Linked DNA regions of Homo sapiens: regions 1 and 3 are each linked to region 2. The links are contacts of gene promoters, found by promoter capture Hi-C in blood cells and fetal thymus (Javierre and others, 2016). All regions are on one chromosome and are shown on one strand. Each heading gives the region's core, a stretch centred on a gene start or on the middle of the fragment in contact. The rest is flanking DNA. Distances are from core to core; before and after follow the strand shown.

Region 1 (4,170 bases), core at 1,270-3,769, 5.8 Mb before region 2:
GTAGAGTCCATATTTTTTATATTCATTTTACTAACATTTTGGTTTACTAACATTTTGGTTAACTAACATGTTACCAGGTAATTTAATGGAGATTTTGCATTTAAAAAATTGCATTCCTAAAGGAACTTAGTTTGTGCCATTGGTCATAGAATCAGGAACAGTGTGATGGCTACTAAAGGTGGAATTGGGACTAGGGAAGTGTGAAAATAGAATAATAGAATGCCATAAAAAAAGAGCAGCTGATGCGGAAGCCTAAAGGTAGTTAGGAGGCCAGAAATTTACCCCAAAGTGGAAGCTGTTTGACCCGGGCTGGGGGAAGCAGGTACTCCAGTTTTAGGTCTGCAGGTACATTATCTTTGGACCAAGTGTGTAGTGTTTCCTACAAACACATTTTAAAAAATCCATTCTGAGTTTAAAGCTAGATACCTAGTCCTGCTTGGAGGAACTCCATCCCATGGATACAGACTGTGCTTTCCTACCTTCTGCAAAAAACTTCTAAGAGTTAATTAGCATCCTTTGCATGTTTTCATTGTTAGTATTAATATGATTCTCTTGGCTCTGATGGGTCTTTAGAGAAAGTGTTCCCACCCTCCTTATGTTAAGGTTTTTGTTTTGGTCCTTTTTGATTTCTTATGTGGTAATCTTTAGGGTTGACCAGAAAGAAAAGAGTTTGCATCTAAATGTTCCACAGTTCAGTGACTAAGAGGGGTGACACAGCCCCAGAGCCTACGATGGCAGGCACTGTTACATCGGTCTCAATTAACACTGTCTCACTGGGCTGCCCTGTCAGGCAACTCTCTCTGAGGGGAAAAAGCAGACAGTTTTCTATTAGTATGTTGGTGTTTAGTTACTGACCTATTTTTCAGATGAAGAGTACTACTTTGCGTGCTGCATAGTTTTTAATTAAAAAAAAAAAGATGGCCAGGCGCTGTGGCTCATGCCTGTAATCCTAACACCTTGGGAGACCAAGCTGGGAGGATCGCTTGAGGTCAGGAGTTCAAGAGCAGCCTGGCCAATATGGTGAAACCCCATCTCTACTAAAAATACAAAAATTAGCCGGGCATGGTGGCGGGTGCCTGTAATCCCAGCTTCTCAGGAGGCTGAGACAGGAGAATCGCTTGAACCAGGGAGGCGGAGGTTGCAATGAGCTGAGATCGGGACACTGCACTCCAGCCTGGGCGACAGCCCTCAGAATCACACTTGGTGTGCTTGGCCTGCCCTTTGAGAATACTTTTTAGAAGTAATATGATATACGATTAGTCGCTGTCTATATATAAATATATATATAGGTGCGAATCCAGGGGTGGAATGCGGGATGCAGTGGAAGGAGGCAGTGAAGGTGAGGAAGGAACAAAATATTAACTTACACTGCTGTTTCAAGCTTATTTCATTACCACAGTATATTAGCTGTGAGTAATTCCATAAGGAACAAGCTTTATTGCTTGCTCTTTAGTCCACAAATCAAATTTTAATGAGTTATTTGAAAAGAAAAGCAAACCCTTTGGGAAAAGTTTAGCAAAATGTTCAATGTATTTACAATAATATTCAAATCCTAAAATATTAAAATTAAGACTAGTGGGAGCATTATTTCTTACCTCAGATACTCTTCCCATTTTAGAAATACCATTCCCATTGTAGAAACAGCACTTGAAATATATGAAGATGTATCAAGCAATTTCTGATTGCCTGATCAGGGTCTAGGTTTTTAGAATTTGACGTTATTTTTCACTCATATTATATATTAATGCCTACTAATTTACATTTAACTGTACATTTGGTTCTATTAGTTTTGTTTTGCACTTCTGGAATTTTCTCTTCACTCGGACTTTCTGACCCTTGTCTAGACATTTTCGTCTATAGTTTAATTACACCCTTACAAATAATATTAAATATTAAATTACAGAGGTAATCTCTGCAATAGTCAAGGCTCACTAACATCTGCCTGATCTGTTTTTGTAGAAAGGCCAGAGCTTATAAAATATCACAATGGGCCGGGCGTGGTGGCTCACACCTGTAATCCCAGCACTTTGGGAGGCCAAGGTGGGCAGATCACTTGAGGTCAGGAGTTCAAGACCAGCCTGGCCAACACGGTGAAACCCCGTCTCTACTAAAAATACAAAGATTAGCCAGGTGTGGTGGCGCATGCCTGTAGTCCCAGCTACTTGGGAGGCTGAGTCATGAGAATCACTTGCACTTGGGAGGCGGAGGTTGCAGTGAGCCAAGATCACGCCACTGCACTCCATCCTGGGTGACAGAGTGAGACTTGGCATCAAAAAAATAAAAAAAGTTCAAGACCAGCCTGACCAACATGGAGAAACCCCCTCTTTACCATAAATCCAAAAAAATTAGCCAGGCATGGTGGTGCATGCCTGGAATCCCAGCTACTTGGGAGGCTGAGTCAGGAGAATTGCTTGAACCCAGGAGGCGGAGGTTGGGGTGAGCTGAGATCATGCCATTGCACTCCAGCCTGGGCAACAAGAGTGAAACTCCATCTTAAAAAAATAAAAATCATAATATAGTGGATTGCTAGTTCCCAGATGAGTCTTGTGCATTTAGCTAATGATATTTGTTGAGTCCACTGAGGAACAAATGGTAACCAGAAATTAGTCAGGAGTCACAATTGTGGAAATGAAATTGTAGTACCACACTTTGAAGTGCTCAGGCCAAAACTCGAGGCATCATATTTACCTCTCCTGTCTCTGATACCCCCATACCATCAGCAAATCCGTTTGGCTCTACCATTAAAATATAACCCCGAATCTAACCCCCTGTGCACTACAATCACTTTTAACCATTCTGGTCCAAGCCACCAACCCCTTGCTGGATTATTGCAGCCATCTCTTCACTGTAGGAAGAACTGACAGTAGAAGGTAAAAATGGTGAGTGACAGATGGCTGCAATGATCTCTACTTTCTTTTACAATTAGATGCAAGTTGTATCTAAACTGCTATCAGAATATTTGATTGCAAAAACCAGAAATATAACCAAACTACTTAACGCAAAGAAGGAAAGAATGTCTCAAGTTTCCATAAAGCATAAGATTCGGGAACCAGAAAGTCAGAAATCAAGATTCTACTCTCGACCTCCTTGGGTCACTGGTGGTCATTCTCTGTCATCTCTGTGTCTGCTCCATCCTCCCGAGTTCTGTCTAAGAATGGGTACACTCAGCTGTGGTGTGTAGGAAATAAAACACACTACCTAGCCCTAGGACAACATGGCTTCCTCCTCATTCAGATTAATTTGTAATTTTGTAATCCAGTTCCAAATTCCCAGAAGATTATCTCTTGGCTTGCCTTATTTCTGGTTTCAGTCTCAGATCCTAGTGGTTTGGACCAGGAAACAAGGGGACCTGATTAAAATAGAGTTGCCCAGGCCCGTCATTTAGCAGGGGCTAGGGAACTCATTCAGAAAAGGTGGCTTGAACTAGACAAACCAACTAATTAACATCTGTGCTGCAATTTCCAAATAATTTAAATTCAATAGTCTATTAAACTATGTAGTGAATTAATTATTGTCATGCACACAGCCTTCAGGACTCAATAAACTGAAACTAAGTCAATAAAAATGAATGCTAGCAAGTGAGGTAGATTTGTTCTACTTTCCAGAAAGCTTTTGCCATTAAATAATTTCTCATTAAAATGTTTATTTTCAGTTTCTGCCTTCTCCATCTCAATCAGCATCCAGCTTACCTTTGCGATCTGTACCAGGTCCTGCATTAGTCTGGTAACCTTTAAACTGGATAATGAGGACTGATAGATTCAGAAATGTTATGAATTCTTGGTCTTTAGTCTTCTGCACCTGTCAATTTCATATGCTAACATTCTTTTAGTGTATGTGTAGTTTCGTTTTCTTAAAAAGTTGTCTTATTATTTTCATTGTGTTGGCAGAATATTTTTTAGTGCCACCTTGACTCAGCTAAATGTAAGATATATATTTATAATTTGTCAGTAGTATACTATTACATCATCACCTTATGGTCCATTCTTCAAACAGGTAAGAAATAATTTCATTCAGGAGAATGTCACCTAAAGGCAGAAGCTATTGAATTGCTTGAAATCAACATACTTACTCATTCATTCAAATAAAACAAATAAACACAACTTTTCTGAGAAATTATGATGGGTAAAATTCTCTGTTTTGTGCTCAATTTAAAAATGAATAATATAGATT
Region 2 (4,054 bases), core at 150-2,649:
ATTAGAGTTATCAAAAAAGAAAAAAAAAAAACCCTCATAAGGCCATCAAGCTTCAGAATTTCGATGGTAGACTGACGATCCAGGATCTTCTAGAAATATATTTAATCTATTAAAATTAAAATTAAGTATTTTTTTCTAGAGTTCTTTTTTAATAATAGAGTCATTACAAAATAGTACAATGCCGAATTGCTAAATTTTTTCATTTTGGGTTATTTCTCAGGTAAAAATAAGTGCATATAGATTTTATTTAGAGGTAGCAACAAAGAGGATAAAAATAAGCATTTGAGTGCATTCCATTCTCTGCAAGCTTTGAAATAAAGGACTATCTAATTCTTCATGAGTTATCGGGAAAAAGTCACCAATTCTTCGATTCTTACAAAATCATCTTAATACTATGGACAAATTCAAGGTTCGTAGTAAAAATTGCTTTTTTTAAAGTCTTCCCTTTCCACTCCAGGCCCTGAGACTGGGTTAACGGGCAAAGGGAGAAAAAATTGGGAAAAAGTAACGTTTTTGTTTGGATGTCCCAGTTGAGTTTGGTCCAATGAGTTGGGGGGGTGTCTCTCCATTTGGCGGGAGTGGGGAGGGAGACCCTGGAACTCCTGAGGGATCGGTGGGGCTGCCCCTCAGGGCGCGGGACACGCGGAGGAGGCGGGAGATAACCGCGAGCGCGATCTCCCGCGCCCGCCAGCAAGGCTGGGACCGCGAAAAATCGGGGAAACTGCCTTTGGCTGTGAGGGTGCGGGGCAGATGTAGAAAAGGGGCGCAGGGGGAGAAGGTGAGGCACCTGGCCAGGCCCTGGGGGCTTCTCGCTCGCAGCCCTGTCACCGCCGGGGGCCCCGGGGTGGGGGAGGGGAGGGGCATTTGGCGCCTATTCAAGCAGGGTGGGGTAGGTGGGTCTTCCGAGGAGGAAAAAGGGCGCCCTGGGATGCCACGACCCGCACCTCCCGGGGCTGGAGTCCACGGTCGGCGTGGGTGGCGGGACCCCGCGGCCCGCCATCCCGCCCCTGCACATCTGGCTCTTCTGGCTTCCCCCCGACACCCAGCCGCCCTCCTCCCGGACCCAGGAACCGCTGCCGCCGCCCGAGGCCGGGCGTGTGGCATGGCCGCGCGTCCAGGCTCCGAGGGACGTCGGGTCAGGGTCTCAGGCTGCGACCCTCCCCGTGCACCCCTCCTGGCGTGCGCGCCCCCCTCGCGACCGCTCCCCTCACTCACTATCCGAGGGTCGAGGGCGCCCGGCGGCTGTCACTGCGCTGGGGCTGGCGCTGCAGGAGCAGCGGGGTGGCCGTAGGGCGCAGCTGCAGGGGCGCCGGCTCATGCCAGCCGACGTGGAGTCTGCCTCAGGTGGAGGAACCGCTCCGGGGGCAGCTGAGCAACCTGCCTGCTTCACAGACCTGTATCTCTTAAAAGGCGCCAGCTGGTACTTTTAAAATCTTTGAATTTGGTGCCTAAATCCGCGCGGTCCAATGAGACGCGTCGCTTGCATGCGCGCACCAATAGGAGGGCAGTGGGTGGGGGCGCCCTCGTCCGCGCCCAATTGGAGGCTGCCGAGGCGGGGCCGAGCCGCGAAGCCCAGCCCCCTTCCAGCTTACCGGCTCCCCACGTCCGGAAAGATGCTACGGCCGGGGGCGGGACCTCCGAGCACGGGGAGGCCGCGGCCCGGCCACACGTGTGGAGGGTCTATCACGCATGCGTGCGCCCGCCAAGATTCCTTCCGCCGTCTTCTGGACCGGCCTCCTGCAAGTCCTAATCTCAGCCCAAATTCAGCGCTGGCTTCCATCTGGAGATCTTTGATGGGTACAAATGGTAGCCGACTTTCTTCGATCATCTCTCGAACGGGAGTTCGGTGAGCAGCAACTCGGCTCGTCCGGGAATCCAGACTTTCCGGAAGACGGACCCTCCCCCCAGTCCAGCTTAGCCCGCCTCTCTAGGATTTACGCGCGCGCTCTGCTCTCCCTCCTAACTCGACCCTCCCCTTGACCCACGCCTCTGCGCAGGCGCCTTGGCGGGCTGTGGCTGCGGAGTTGGCGGGTCGGCGCCTGCGCACTGGAGTCCCCCGCGATTTTTTCCTCCGGGGTGGGCGAGGAGGCTGTGCGGCCTTCCCCAGCGGCTGTAGCAGGAGACCTGCGGCTGCATCTCCCAGGGCCTTCCGGCGGGGCCGAGGGTAGGACCGAGGCACTTCTTCCTTGCAAGCGCGTTTATTTGTATTTTCAACCACACTTCAGACGCTACTGGTTTATAGGAACGTTAAGTTTACTGAGTGTGCAGCTACGCTCCCCTGGGTTTTTGTTCCTTTCCTTAAAGGGCCAGGTGTAGGAGACAGTAGTCCTGCTCCCAAAAAAAGAATAAATAGAAGTGCCCGCCCTCTTGGGCTGGACCCCCGTGGCCAAGGGAGTTTTTAGTGATGGCTGGCATGGACGTCAGTATGAAAGTGTACCGGAGTATTAGTGATGCTTAACTTTTCACAATTTGAATATGCACTTAAGTAGGGCAGTGCATTCCCTGAACTCAGCTTTATGGCTACAGCCCAGTGAAGCAACGGGATGTGAACTCCAAAACGGCGAATCCTCCTTTGCTGTTTCCCTCTGGTGCCTTTCTGCAGCCTCGGAGTGAGTTCTTGGCTGTAGTCAGTTTTCAGTACCGTTAGTGACGAGTCCGGTGGGGCGCGGCCAGGATTAGGATGAATCATACAAGTGCTGGGTGGATCCTGTCTTTACCTAAAATTTTGATAATTAGTTGTGGGGCGCGGCCAGGATTAGGATGAATCATACAAGTGCTGGGTGGATCCTGTCTTTACCTAAAATTTTGATAATTAGTTCATCATGGGTTTTTTGCCTTTTTCATTTTTAAAAATGTTAAAATAGTGTCACTCTTGATGACTTAAATTTTTTTCATCCCCGTAAACGCACCTGAGGCCTGTGCTTCCTTGCCTCACCCTAACCTGGCCCTGGGGCTAGATCCTGGAGATTCAGGGTTGAAAAGACAAAGTCCTGTCCTTTAGGGAGTTTACAGAGACCAATGGGAAAGAAGTTGACAGTGAACAATTTCAGAACACGAAAGAGGATATGAAAGAATGTAATCGGGGGTAGAGAATGCAGATTAGTATAGGTTAAGGATTTTGGATGGTCAGGACGCTTTCTGAGGCTTTGAACCCAGATGCGTTGAACTGGCAATGCAGGGCTGCATAATAAGCAGAGGGAATAATAAGCAGAGGGAATGCCTGACTACGACTTAGTGAACAAGAGAGAGAGGAGATGAGGTTAGAGAGGTAGGCAGAAGCCAGATCCTGTGGGACCTTGTAGTTTTTCCATGCAGAGTTTAGACTTTCTTCTGATTGCAGTGGTTAGCTGTTGGAAGGATTTTGGCAAGGTAGTTATTTGTTGATAGAATATTGAAATTATAATAGCTTTTTTATGTAAAAAAAAGAATGTAAATGTTAGCCTTTCATTCTCACAATAGGTTAGCATTATTTTCAGTGTACAATGGTCGTGCTTCTCAGTGTGAGTTAATTCTCACTGTGGCTACCAAAACCACACAGCTAGTAAGCGGAGATTCGAGTGCCCGTCTGCAGGATTCAAAAAGTCCATGTCCTTTCCTCTTATGCTATGCTAGCCTATAACACTATCTGCTGGAGTCCTGGTTGGTTTTAGTACATTTCACATTACTTCACAGTTTGACCTTAGAGATAATTGTATTCACCTCTTCTATTTTCAGATGCTGGCATAAATACAAAATTCGAAGCAGGCAAGGTTTCTCATTACATTAGTTTTTATTTGTATTTTTTTGAGACTGAGTCTCGCTCTGTAGCCCAGGCTGGAGTGCAGTGGCGCGATCTTGGCCCGCTGCAGTCCCTGCCTCCTGGTTCAAGCGGTTCTCCTGCCTCAGCCTCCCAAGTAGCTGGGATTATAGGCATGCGCCACCACGCCTGGCTAATTTTTATATTTTTAGTAGAGACGGGGTTTCACCTTTTTGTCCAGGCTGGTCTTGAACTCCTGATCTCAACTGATCCATCCACCTCGGCCTCCCAAAGTGCTGGGTGGCATGAGCCACCGAG
Region 3 (3,958 bases), core at 1,447-3,946, 7.0 Mb before region 2:
AGATGAAAGGCTTCATAGTTTAGCAGAGGGGAATGATCTAAAATGTTAAGTATGTGACAAGCCGCCAAGGCCAAAAAAAAAAATCTACCAGAGATTCTGAGGAGAGGGCACATAATACTACCAATAGATTTAAGAAACGATCTCCCTGGGTGAATTAAATGCTATACTAAATATTAAAGAATAACCAGGAATTACCAGGGAAGGGGAAGGGAACAACTCAAGCAGAAGGAACTATAAGAACAAAAGCAAAGACGCAGAAAGTCAGTGTGGTATATGGAGAAAATAAATCAATTTGGAGTTTCTGGGACAAAATAAAAAGCAGAGTAATAAAGGGTAAGGCTCAAGGGCTTGTCAAGGGAGGAACTTGTGTGCCAGATTAGAAAGATTATACTTAATTCTGTAGGCAGTAATGGGTAGAATTTCATTTGCATTCAATCATACAATTCCAGAGACAAAATCGAAGCATTTGAAAAGGCAAAATAGCAAACAGATAAATGGTTAAATGACTGCTGCAGTAAGAGGAACTGATGATGAGGACCAAAACAAGTCACTGAAAGTAGAGATGGAAGATCTTGAAAAAGTGTAGCCTGAAAATGATTAGTTGTAACATACTTTGAATAGTTATTAAAAGCTTAAAGTGTACTTTGAAACTTAACAATGAAAGGCTTATTGCTGGCTTTTCAGACTTCTCTCACAAGTTAATTTAAAATTGGACTGCCAATGTAGAAGAGCCTCAAAAAAGACACCACAAAAAACTGAGTACCTTGATAATGTGATTTCCTTCTGGTTTCTGATAGAGTTTTATTCTTCTCTTCTTTTGTAGCCACCCCAAATCTTCTAACATTTCACCACTGAAGGATGACTCCACCAGAATACCCTTGTCACAAATACTCATCGGTTCTTTTTTTTGTTTCTCTACATCTTCACCTTTTGAATGAACATAAATCAGGAACTGATTGCTTGACTCTGAACTCATCAATGTAATACTCCTTTCGGAAAAATTTTCAATTAAACTCTGTGCAGGAAGAAGCTGAAGAGTTAATTCTCCTAGAAATGCTTTCCAGGAATTATCAAAATGATAGGGAGAAATCACAATATTTAACTTTACAGACAAAGGGGAAAAAATACCAACAGTCTCTTCTTTTTCAATTGGTTTTGAGAAGCTCACCACTTTTGAACACCTCTTCTTATCTCTGTGAGCCACTTCTTCCTTTAGACTATCACTTAGAATGATATAATGAGCAGAAGAGGTATCTGAACCTGGGCAGGGCTGCTCGTCATCATCACTTATGATGATAGGTTCATTCCTTCTGTCCTCATGCATATTCCAATGAAGCTGCTGCCTCTTTTCCTCATCTACCCTCACTGGAGGAGCACGTTTCCGTCGGCTGCTCATTTTCAAGTTTTCTTGGCTGGTAACTGTGAACTCTAGAGGACAAATGAAACAACAGGAGGTATAACAAGAGATGATTTAGTATTTAAGGGTTACCAGATGAGAAATTCAGCATAAATTCATAGCCCATAAACATAATATGAAATCTTCTGTGAGATATAAGGCAATGAGTAATTTTTTTACCAGGTCATTATGACTAAGGAATGAACATATTAACCATAATCTCATTTATCAAATAAATTCTAATGGTTTTGCTAGTCTTTAATAGTAAAGGCAATTTGTTGTATAAAATAAAATAAATTGTAGAAATACATTTAATAAGCAATATAATAGGAAGGTAAATCTCTCAATCCCAAGTAATTTAACTGCCCCTCAGAACAAAGCCCAACAATACTTAAAAGAGCGAAACAAAATCCAACACAAATGTCTGGCATCAAATCTAAAATTATCAGGCACGCAAAAAAAATGAAAATAAAACAGAAAAATAAGACCCATTACAAGAAAAAAATCAAAAAGCCCCAGAAAAGACACAGATGATATAATTAGCAGAAACAAACATTCAAACAGCTACTGTAAATATTCTCAATATGTTAAAGGTAGAGGAAAACATGAATATGACAAAGAAAAATGATAGATATACAAGTGACTCCTATAGAATTTATGCAGATGGAAATGCAACATCTAAAACGAAAAACACATTGTATGAGATTACCAGCAGATTAGAAATGGCAAAGAAAAAAAGAAGCAGAATAAGCTTAAACAATGGAAACAACAGTAACAACAGAAACTGTCAAAAATGAAGTAGAGATAAACAAAGACTGAAAAAACAATAAATAGAACATCAGAAACCTACTAGACAATGTTAAGGAGTCAAACATGCATAAAACTGGAATCTCAGCAGCAAAGAATGGAAAGGATACAAAAAACTTTTTGAAAAAATCATGCATGAAAATTTTCCAACTTCTATAAAAACCATCAACTCAGAAAACCAAGAAGCTCAATGAAACCCAATCAGGGCAAACATAAAGAACAATCACAATAAGGTATGCCATAATTAAATTACTGAAAAGTGAGGACTTCTCTCCAGATTGGCCCTATTTCTCTGGTTTAGACACTGCTCCCACCCCACAGCTCTAAACCCAGCAAAATATCTTTCAAAAATGAAGGTGAAAAAAAGATCAACAAAAGCCAAAAGGACTTATCACCTGTATACCTACAATCTAAGTAATGTAAGAAGCGCTTGGGTAGAAGAAATATGACATCAGATGGAAATCTGGATCCACACACAAGGAAATAAAAAGCAAAAACAAAAAATATGTGTATAAATATAGTAAACTTTTTTCTTGATTTTTAAATTTCTGTAAAAGATAACTTACTATACTTTCATTCTGAAAATTTTCAAGCATACATAAAAATTTAGAAAATAGTATAACAGTATAATCAGAGATCTATACAGTGTACTATGTTCATGGACTAGAAGACTCAAAATGTTCAGATGTCAATTTCTTAGTACTGACCTATAGAAAAGCAATCCCATTCAAAATTCCAACAGGTTTGTTCTGTAGAAACTGACAACCTGATGTTAAAATTTATACTAAAATGCCTACAATACAGGAAAGTCAATATAATTTTAGAAAAGAAAAATAAAGTTGAATGACTTACACTGATTCCAAGACATATGTCAAAAGAAATAAAAATGGTGCAGTAGTGGTGTAAAGACCAACATATAGATCAAGGGAAATGTCCTGTAGTGGACCCACACATGGATGGTCAATTGATTTTTGAAAGAAGTTCAGAGGCAGTCAATGGGAAAGGTATCCTTTTAGTAAATGGATACCAATATGCAATGAAATGAAGCTTTACCTCCTAAAATGTAAGAATTAACTAAAAATAGATAATAAACTATAAAAGCTAAAACTAAAACTTCTCAAAGAAAACAGAGGAGAAAACCTAAATGACATTGGATTAGCCCAAAAAAAAGGCACAAAAATTTTTAAGCAGGAAACAAAAACCATAGACTATGTAAGAATATGATAAACTAAGTTTCATCAAAATTAAATATTTTGGTTCTTCAAAAGATACTGTCATCAAAATATGACAGCAAGTCACAGATGGGAGAAAATATTAGCAAATCAAGTATCTGATGAAGGATATGTTTGCAGAATATATAAAGAACTCTCACAAATTAATAGTAAGACAAACATTTAAAAAAGTCAAAAATTTTGAATAGACATTTCACCAAAGATGACCTATAAGTGTAAAATAAGCATATGAAAATATTTTCACCAGCATCAGTCATTAAAGCAATACAAATTCAACCCACAAATCACAATGAGATGCCACTATTCATATACTAAAATAGTCAAAAATTTAAAACACTGAGAGTATGGCTCAAACAGAACTGAACTCTCCAACATTTGAACACAGCACAGTCACTTTGGAAAAGTATCAGTTTCTAATAAAATTGAATATAACTTACTATGCAGCCTAGTAATCCCTCTCTTAGGTATTTATCCAAGAGAAATCAAAACATAAATCCACAAAAATTTAAACTTGAATGTTAAC

What was found. The method cuts DNA at HindIII sites, captures the fragments that hold promoters and counts their contacts. A CHiCAGO score of 5 or more calls a contact.
Region 1: a fragment that was not itself captured here is called in contact with the fragment with the promoter of FBXO5 in region 2 in 1 of 17 cell types (total B cells); the score reaches 10.8 in total B cells.
Region 3: a contact is called between a fragment that was not itself captured here and the fragment with the promoter of FBXO5 in region 2, in 1 of 17 cell types (total B cells). The highest score is 11.3, in total B cells.

The regions. Positions count from the first base shown.
Region 1 is chr6:147,196,949-147,201,118 of GRCh38, forward strand. The region is part of intron 1 of STXBP5-AS1 (STXBP5 antisense RNA 1); the gene reads right to left. Among named protein-coding and RNA genes, the nearest start is that of STXBP5, 5.4 kb to the right of the region's middle. The HindIII fragment of the contact is 2,176 bases long and covers 1,432-3,607 here.
Region 2 is chr6:152,981,642-152,985,695 of GRCh38, forward strand. FBXO5 (F-box protein 5) reads right to left here and starts at 1,400. Exons shown (of 5, transcript NM_012177.5): 1 at 1,216-1,400. The coding sequence starts at 1,318. RefSeq lists silencers at 834-903, 1,384-1,703 and enhancers at 1,734-1,953, 2,244-2,363, 2,894-2,993. The HindIII fragment of the contact is 9,521 bases long and covers 306-4,054 here.
Region 3 is chr6:145,953,927-145,957,884 of GRCh38, forward strand. It overlaps SHPRH (SNF2 histone linker PHD RING helicase), which reads right to left. Exons shown (of 30, transcript NM_001042683.3): 2 at 764-1,428. The coding sequence starts at 1,396. Among named protein-coding and RNA genes, the nearest start is that of SHPRH, 8.5 kb to the right of the region's middle. The HindIII fragment of the contact is 1,103 bases long and covers 2,146-3,248 here.